Regions from separate parts of the Homo sapiens genome. Here regions 2 and 3 are each linked to region 1. Evidence: promoter capture Hi-C in human tissues and cell types (Jung and others, 2019). All regions are on one chromosome and are shown on one strand. The core of a region is centred on a gene start or on the middle of the fragment in contact, and the rest is flanking DNA. Distances in the headings are between cores, read along the strand shown.

Region 1 (2,924 bases), core at 219-2,718:
CCCGGACCTGAAATCAGCTCGGGGCCAGCCTGCAAGGCACCGGTGCCCCCTCTCTCTTACTGCACAGAGTGGACAGGAGCTAGCCAGTCATGGGCTGCTGGTGAAGTACGGGGGAGGGGGTCCTCCTGGGACTCCTAGGTGCCCCCAACAATCTCCCAGAAGCCAGTCCCAGTTCTCGGCATCCCCCTGGAGGAAGGGGAGGGGGACTCTCTGGCTTACAGTCTGTGGGGGTGGAGGGAGGAGGGAGGACGCCCAGACCCCACGTGCCGACCTGCAGAGCCCTGTCCGTGCCCGCACAGGTGCCCTGACACACTGACACGGCTATACGTGCGCAGCCGCACACGCGGCTGGTCCACACGCCCATCCATCCATCTCCGGCGGCCCCCAGGGAGGCTACGCGCTGAGCCAGGATGAGTGCTGGGACCAGGGCTCCAAGCTCCCAGCCCTTTCCTGGGGCCGGCCATAGGGCAAGCTGGGGATGGCCAGTGGTGGTCCCCCACTCCCTCATGGCCTCCTTTCCCAGCAGGGAAGCTGGAGACCCGGCTCTGCTGGAGCCTGCCTGAGCAGGGCCCCAAGCCCTTGCGCCCAGGCCGGCCCTGCCTGGAGTCCAGCCTGCCCTGGGCTGGGCGACCTTGGGCCTCTGCTCTCCCATCAGTAAATGGCACCCCACCGGCCATGCCAGGGCAGCCACACCCCCAGCGTGGTCCTGCCCCCACCTTCCCTGCAAAGCGTGTTATTAAACGTGGGGCGGGAGGGGGTCTGCTAGGGACTGTCACCTCCCGGGTCGCCCCTCGCCGCAGGGGCCCCCTCCCTGTCTTCCCGGTGCGTGTGGTGGGTGGGGGGGGCATCCGCCTCGCCCTTTGAAGGCCCCAGCAGAGACCTCCAGCTGTCAGCCCGCAGCCTGGGAAGGGAGGGGGACAGAGGTAGAGAGAGAGGGATGCGAACGCCCGCGGCCCGGGAGGCGGGTGCCGCCAGGTGCCCGCTGCGGGGCTCACGGTGGCGGCCGGCTCTCGGGGCCGCCCCATCTCCAGTGCTGGGGGCAGCGGGTGGAGGGCACGGACCAAGGGTCTGGGCGCTGCTGGCCCCGCCCCGCCCCCGGGGACCCGACAACGTCCCCTCCCCGCCCGGCGCCGGGTGGGGGGCTCCGCGCCGGGGAGGGGCCCCCGGGGCTCCCACCCGCGCCCCGCGCCCCCGGCACTCACTGGCCTTCCCGGGCCGCGGCCTCTGCAGCAGCCTCTGCGCGGTCCCTACGTCCTCCGCCTTCACCGCCTGCACCAGCTCCTGCTCCTTCCCCATGGCGCGGCCGGGGCCGCAGCGACGCGGCTGCGCTCGTGAGCTCGGCGCGGCTCAGAGGCGGCGGCGGCCCCGCGGCACCGGCCGCCTCCCCCGCCGCCTCCCCCGCCGCCTCCTCGCCGCCCGCCGCCCCTTCGCCCTCCTCGGGCTCCGGCTTGGGCTCGGGCTCCCGGCGCGGAGGGGGCGGGGAGCGCGTCACGGGCGGGGGGCGGCCCGGGGGCGGGGGCGCGCGGCGGGCGCGGGGCGGGGGCGCGGCACCTGGCGCCGCCTCCCGGACGCCGGGGTCCGCTCCCGGGCCGCCGACCTCCGTCAGCCCGCGCCGGCCGCGCGCCCGGGCCCGTGGCTCCGCCCTCCCCGCGCCCGCCCCGGGACGCCCCCTCCCCACGTGCGCGCAGCGCGCTCAGGCCAGGCCTCTGCGGACGCGGGCGGCCTGGGGCTGCTAGCCGGGCTGGGGACGCGGCCGCCGGGGGTGCACTGGGAGCCCCGACGCGGCGGCGGCGCGGGGCTGAGCCCAGAGAGGCTTCCAGAGGCTGCGGGACCCGCGGGGGACGGTTCCGAGGCAGCGGGCGGGCGGGGACCGGGCGCCGAGAGACCCGGGCGCCAGTGCCCCTGGAGCCGGCCCGCCAGGCTGTCAGGCGTTCCTGGCCCAGGGTTCCCGTGGGAGGTGTCGAGGGATTGTGAAGAGGAATCTCCCAATAATGAATTCGGTGTCAGGGAACCCGCACCCCCAACCCCCAAGCATCCTCCTGCTCCTCTCCGCAAATAATGCGGGCGCCACAGCTTCCCCCAGCCTCAGTCCGAAGCCTGACCCCAAGGTAGCCCCCACCACCCCCACTGAGGGAGCTCAACTCCCCACTCCCCGCACCGACTGGGGGTCGCCTCCATCTCCATCCACAGGGGCTGGAACCTCCCGCCGGCACCAACCGACCCCCGGCCCACGTCTGCCCACTCTCCAGCCTGCAGCCCAGGCAGGCGAGTCCTGCTTCCTGGGTGCTGGAGGCCCCGACTTGTGACCCTCTGAGCTCCTGGCTGAAGGCTTGGGCCACCCTGCGCCTCAGGCCCTCTCCCGTCAGGCCTGCAGCATTCTAGAGGCAGATCAGTGGGGGTCTGAGTCCCGACTCAGGCTCCGTTTCCCTCATCACCCAAGCGGGCAAGGCCGTTTGGAGAATTTGGGGAGGGTCGCACCCATTCTATGAGGCATGGCCTGGCACCCCACTCTGTGTGGCCCCAGACCATTGAGCAGGTCCAGGGGGACAGAGGAGGTCAGACAGCAGGGACAGGGAAGGTGACAGGCACCGGGGTCCCGGCATCCTGTGGGCAGCTGGCCGTTCCCGTTCCCTCCGTGGGGTCTCCTGTTAGGTTCAGGTAGCAGCCCTTGGTCTTCCAGCACTCCTGGGAGGGGTCCCCAAATGCTAGGGCCTTTCCTCTTGCCCTTTCCAATGACCAGTTGAGTACCCGCTGGGTCAGGCACTGTGCTGGTCACCTCCTAGATGAGGTTGGACTCACTGTCCCCATTTTACAGATGAAGAAACTGAGGCTCAGAGAAGCCAAGGGGCTCACCTGGGGTCCCAGAGTCTTGAGGTTGTAAGTCTGGGCTTTGCACCCGCACCTCTGGATGTGTCCTATTCCCC
Region 2 (2,924 bases), core at 239-2,738, 590 kb after region 1:
CTCCGAGGCTTCCTCACCTGCAGACTTCCTTCCCTGAGTCCCAGCAGCTCCTGGAGGAGGAAGCAGGGAAGGGACCAGATTATAGATTTGGTGTCAAATAACGGAGTTGGAGGGGAGGCCAGAGATGAGGAAGGAGGGTGAAACAATGTTGCCCTGACATTGCGCCAGGCTTTCGTGCCGTCTGTTATCTTATTTAACCCTCCCCAGAGCACTGTGAAGGTGCAGGGGGCAAGGGCGTATGAGCATGACACCGACAAGCACATCGAGGTGTGGTGAGGTCAAGGTCAGTGGCAGAGAGGATTGAGCCCTTGGAATCAAGATTAGAAAGCCCAAGAGTGCTCCAGGGAGCCCGGCCCAGGGAGCAGTGAGATGGGAGAACTGGGAGCCAAGGTGTCTGCGGCCCTCACCCCCAGTCCCTGTCCCCACTCACCCAGCACCAGAAGGAGCAGGACCTGGAGACAGGAAACCCCTCTCATTCTGTCTTCAAGGCTGGGCTGGGTAAGGGTGGCACTGCCTAGGGCTTGGACTCTGGTCTGGAGCCAGCAGGGAGAAGAGAGGAGAGTCCTGGCCCAGGGGCACCAATCCTCACACCAGCCCGTCACCCCCTCCGTGGTCCTTCTGTCTGTCCTCAGCTCCTGGTGGGTTCTGGACTTATCCTGGTGGCCCAGGCTGTATACCCTTCGTTCTGCCCAGGGCCCAGGTATGCAGCACCCACCACCCAGATATTTGGGCATCCTTGGTCTCGACAGAAGCCCTGGAGCCTAACCCCCCTCGGTCATCCTCACTCCCTCCCTCATCCCCCTCCCCCATCCTCACCCCCTCCCTCATCCTCACCCCCTCCCTCATCCTCACTCCCTCCTCCATCCTCACCCCCCTCCTCCTCACTCCCCTCCCTTATCCTCACCCCTTCCCTCATCCTCATCCCTCTCTCATCCTCACCCCCTCCCTCATCCTCACCTCCTCCTCTATCCTCACCCCGTCCTCCATCGTCACCCCTGCTCCTCCTCACTCCCCTCCCTCATCCTCACCCCCTCCCTCATCCTCACCTCTCATCCTCACCCCTCTCTCATCCTCACCCCTCCCTCATCCTCACCCCTCCTCTATCCTCACCCCCTCCTCCATCCTCAGCCCCCTCCTCCTCACTCCCCTCCCTCATCCTCACCCCCTCCCTCATCCTCACCCCTGTCTCATCCTCACCCCCTCCCTCATCCTTCACCCCCTCCCTCATCCTCACTCCTCTCTCATCACCCCTCCTCCATCCTTCACCCCCCCATCGTCACCCCCTCCCTCATCCTCACCCCCTCCTCTATCCTCACCCCCTTCCTCCTCACTCCCCTCCCTCATCTTCACCACTTCCCTCATCCTCACCCCCTCCCCCATCCTTCACCCCTCCTCGTCCTCACCCTCATCCTCACCCACTGGCTGCCCCTGCAGCCCCCACAGCCCCTGGCTTGCTCTCACCCTCACAGCCTGGCGCCTTCTGCTGACTGGGGTTGAGGGAGGGCCTGGGGGCTTAAAGTGCCAGGAGAGCGCGAGGCTCAGCCAAGGAGTAATGAACAGGGCCGGGGCGGGGCTGTGGCTTTACCGGACCAGCCTCAAACAAAGATGCTTTGAGCAGAGCTTCAGAGGTGGCAGGAAAGGGTCAATGGGTTTCTCAAAGGAAGCCTGCCTTGCGCCAAGGTACTAGAAGTGGGGGCTGGCGGAGAGCAGTGGTGCGGGTAGGTGCTGGGAGGGGTGGCAGTCAGGTGGGGAAGCTCTGCAGGATCCGGGGCAACTCCTCTCCAAACCTGACCTGGGCTCCCTGCAGAGCACACGTTGCTGGAGCTTCTGCGCTCCATTGTTCTGTCCAGAAATCCCATCTCAGACGGAAGTCCTGGCCAGACAGCTCCACCCAGAGACCCCAGCATGGCCAGCCCCCTTCCAGATCCGGGGTCTGGAGCAGCTGGAGGTGGAAAGGGACTGGTTCAAAGTTGGTGGCACTCCTTACTTGACCAGAGGCAGGGGGAGACTTGACCTTGGGGACCAGTGCAGTCTTTGGTTTGGGGTGGCCGAGACAGAGCAAGATGCTGGGGTCAGGGGACAGGAACTCCCCTTCTCTCGAGGCCCGTGGAGGACCGGGGCCCGGATGGTCCAGGGCCCTGTAGTTCCCTCTTGGGCTCATACACAGTGTTCGCTGCCTAGAAGTCTCTCAAGTCCCTCTCTGCATAGTGAACTCCTCTTATCCCTCAGCCTTCTGCTCTGCCACCTCCTCCTGCCTCCTTTGCAGCCCTGCCATAGTTGTACTTTTTTCCTTTTTTTTTTTTTTGTTTTTCTTTCTTTTTTTTTTTAAAGAGACAGGGTCTTGGCCAAGCATGGTGGCTCATGCCTGTAATCCCTGCATTTTGGGAAGCCGAGATGGGTGGCTCATTTGAGGTCAGGGGTTTGAGACGAGCCTGGCCAACATGGTGAAACCTCGTCTCTACTAAAAATACAAAAATTAGCCAGGCCTGATGGTGGGCGCCTGCAATCTCAGCTACTCGGGAGGCTGAGGCACAGGAATTGCTTGAACCCGGGAGGTGGAAGTTGCAGTGAGCCGAGATTATGCCACTGCACTCCAGCCTGGGCGACGCAGTGAGATTCTGTCTCAAAAAAAAATAAAAAGGGAGAGAGAGACAGGGTCTTGCTCTGTCACCCAGGCTGGAGTGCAGTGGTACAATCACAACTCCCTGCGTCCTTGACCTCTGGGCTCAAGTGATCCTGCCACCTCAGCTTCCCAAGTAGTTGGGACCACAGGTGCATGCCACAGCACCTAGCAATTTTTTTTTCCAGAGATGGGGTCTTGCAATGATGCCCAACTTGTTCTCGAACTCCTGGGCTCAAGAGATCCTCTTGCTGTAGTCTCCCAAAGTGCTGGGGTTATAGGCATGTGCCACCGAGGCCAGCCC
Region 3 (2,924 bases), core at 120-2,619, 520 kb after region 1:
GGACACAAGTGTGGCTGTGGGGGCTGATGGGAAATGGGGGATGTGGACAGCTGAGCCCTTCAGGGTGGGCGCCCTGTGGGGGCTGGAAGCAACAGCCAGGGGTGCCGGGGGTGTCAGGAGCATTGTTTGGGGCCTGGGCCTGTGATTCGCTGGTAGCTGGTGGGGATGGTGAAGCTTAGTGGGTACCACCAGCCAGAGACCTGGTGGGAGTGCCACCCTCGGGCTGGGAGTGAGGACGTGTCCAGGAGTCCAGCCTCTGGTCACAGCTGTTAGTGAACCGACTGCAAAACTCATTGCCAAAGAGTTTTGGCAATGACCTTGGTTCCTCACCCCGCTCAGGGGCAGTCACAGCCTTCCACCTCCTGTGCACATGGCTTGCTCAGAGGGCACCATCCTTGTGCTGGGAGACTGGGGGCATGGGGTGGGGGAGGCCGGGCCACTGAGGGGCCACTGGTGCCCTCCCACCCAGGAGAACAAGGAAGCCTGGAGTACTGGCTAAGCTGCAGCCTGGGATGACCTGACCCAGCCCTGGGAGGTGACTTGAGGACAGGGAAGTGTGGTGGCTGCCAGACTGGCTAGGCTAGCCCAGGAATGTGAGAGGTTTTCCCTGACAGAGAGTGTCCCGGCCCGCAGGGAGGGGCCTGGCAGGTGGGGCCCCCTGGCTGGCACCTGCTGTCCCTGACCCAGGACTGGGAGAGGGCACGGTGGCGCATCACCGGTTCCTCTGTCAGCAGGAGACAGGGCCCTCTGCCACCTACACCCCCTGCCCCCAGCTCTCTACTGAGCCTGCAGCCAGCCTGCTGGGGCTTCCGGGCACAGGCAGCAGCCCTCGGCTCGGCCACCCTCCCACCCCGAGTATGATGGTCCAGGCACTTGGAGCCTGAGTTCACATCCTGCACGTAGGAGGCCCCTGTCCTCACCTAGAGAATGGGGGGAGAGGCCGAGGTGGCAGGAAGCAGGGAGCCTGGCCAGAGCTGGCACACCAGTGCCCGCGGAGAGGCATGGGAGGAGGTGCTGCCCAGTTATGCCGGTGGGGTCCTCTGGGGCCTGTGCGCACACCTCCCACCCTGCCTCCCCACTTTGGACTCCCCACTTGGCACATCTGGAGCCTTCCCACCTGCTCAGGGGCAGGAGGGATGATGGCCTGTCCCACAGCCCCAGCCTGTCCCAGGGAGTAGGGGGCTGAGCCGGAGCCCCAGGCAGTGCAGCGGAGCCTGGTGGGGGACTGCACCACCAGGACCCTGCACCTTCACGACTCACCAAAACACAGCAGCAGCAGGAGCGGCACCGCCGCCGGCCGCCTCATGTCCTCAGGCCTGGCTGGGGCGCAGGGCCGTGGTCGGCGGTGGCAGAAGCGTTGGAGCACGAGCGAGGTGCAGGCTCCATGAAGTGGAGTTTTATGCTGGAGATGAGCACAGGCCCGGCTATGCGGCCCAACCCGTCGGCCCGGCCTGCCCAGCTCCTCTCCTCAGGAAGGAAGCGCCCAGAGCCGACTCCTCCGTGACCTAGCCCTGAACCCCGAGACCCCAGGGCAGACCCCTCACCCCAGCGCAGCACGGGGTGCCGTTGGCCTCGGTTCCTGGACCCTGAGCTGACCCAGACCCCCCAGCAGACCCCGAGCTGACCGCGGTGCACGCGAAGTCCGTCCAGCTTCATTCATTATTATTATTATTATTTTTTTTAATTTTTTGAGACAGAGTCTCGCTCTGTCGCCCAGGCTGGAGCGCAATCTCGGCTCACTGCAAGCTCCGTCTCCCAGGTTCAAGCCATTCTCCTGCCTCAGCCTCCTGAGTAGCTGGGATTACAGGCAGGTGCCACCACGCCCGGCTAATTTTTTGTATTTTTAGTAGAGACGGGGTTTAACCGTGTTGGCCAGGCTAGTCTCGATCTCCTGACCTCGTGATCCGCCCTCCTCGGCCTCCCAAAGCGCTGGGATTACAGGGGTGAGCCACCGCGCCCGGCCTCATTCAGTATTTTATTGAGCGCCGATGGAACACAGTGGGGCTGGGCCGCGCTGGTGGGAAAGTCAAGGCCAGGGGTGTTTGCGGGGCCGAGGGCAGGGGAGGCGATGGGACATGGGGCGGGGTCCGGAGTTGGCCGCAGCGACCCTCCTCCCGGGACAGCAGGCCCCAGAAGTTCCTCAGGCGCGCGCCAGCGCGGCCCAGGCGGCCGACCCGGGCCCCGGCTGCCATCCCTTGGAAGGGGCGGGGGCTTCCTGGCACCAGGCGGGGCGGAAGCGGCTCCGGGAAGGCCGGGCCGGGGTTACCGTTTCGGTGTCCCCGCCTGGCTCTGGGCGCGGCGCCGCGGCGGAAGAGGCTCGGGGAGGAAGTTATTTGGGGCACGGCGCTGACGTCAGAGACAGAGTGGGGCCGGGCCGTGGGGTCGGGGGCGCCGGACCTGTTTCCCCGCCGGCGCCGGGGGTCGGTACTCGCGGGCGGGGCGGGGCCGGGCGGCTCCGGGCGGGGCTGGGGGTGCGGCCGTTCCCGCCTCAGCCTTGTCCGCGCGCGTCGTGGTGCTGCCCTCTGGTGGGCGCGGGGCGCGGCGCGGGCGGCCAGGGGTGCAGAAGGGGCGCTCCCAGCCTCATGGTCCGGGCTCCGGCTCCCCGCATCGCCCTCCCTAGCCCCGCCCTCCCGCGTCTCCGCCTCCGCCTCCACCGCCTCCTCCCACCCTTCCCTCCCCGTCCAGTCCCTGGAGTTCCCGGGTCGGGGGTGGGAGGCGGGCTGGGCAGCCCCTGGGGGTCTGGAGGGAAGGAGGGAGGGCGAGGAGTGGGAAGAGGGGACTCCAAACGTATTCATTCATGTATTGATTTATTCATTCAGTCAGTCAGTCATTTCTGAGCAGATTTGAGCCCAATACTGTCCCCGGTTTGGGGAATACAAAGGTGACCCAAACAGACCTCACCTCAGTGTGAGAGAGAGAACATC

The links. The method cuts DNA at HindIII sites, captures the fragments that hold promoters and counts their contacts. A contact is called where the count stands out against the background at its distance.
Region 2: a contact is called between the fragment with the promoter of PRSS33 here and the fragment with the promoter of CASKIN1 in region 1, in 1 of the 25 tissues and cell types used here (thymus).
Region 3: the fragment with the promoter of PRSS27 here is called in contact with the fragment with the promoter of CASKIN1 in region 1 in 1 of the 25 tissues and cell types used here (lymphoblastoid cells).

The regions. Positions count from the first base shown.
Region 1 is chr16:2,195,137-2,198,060 of GRCh38, forward strand. It overlaps CASKIN1 (CASK interacting protein 1), which reads right to left and starts at 1,469. Exons shown (of 20, transcript NM_020764.4): 1 at 1,203-1,469. The coding sequence starts at 1,296. The HindIII fragment of the contact is 36,898 bases long and covers 1-2,924 here.
Region 2 is chr16:2,786,072-2,788,995 of GRCh38, forward strand. PRSS33 (serine protease 33) reads right to left here and starts at 1,489. Exons shown (of 7, transcript NM_152891.3): 1 at 1,462-1,489; 2 at 431-533; 3 at 18-50. The coding sequence starts at 476. The HindIII fragment of the contact is 27,852 bases long and covers 1-2,924 here.
Region 3 is chr16:2,718,855-2,721,778 of GRCh38, forward strand. PRSS27 (serine protease 27) reads right to left here and starts at 1,370. Exons shown (of 6, transcript NM_031948.5): 1 at 1,261-1,370. The coding sequence starts at 1,306. RefSeq lists an enhancer at 1,640-2,207 and silencers at 1,941-2,700, 2,831-2,900. The HindIII fragment of the contact is 19,281 bases long and covers 1-2,924 here.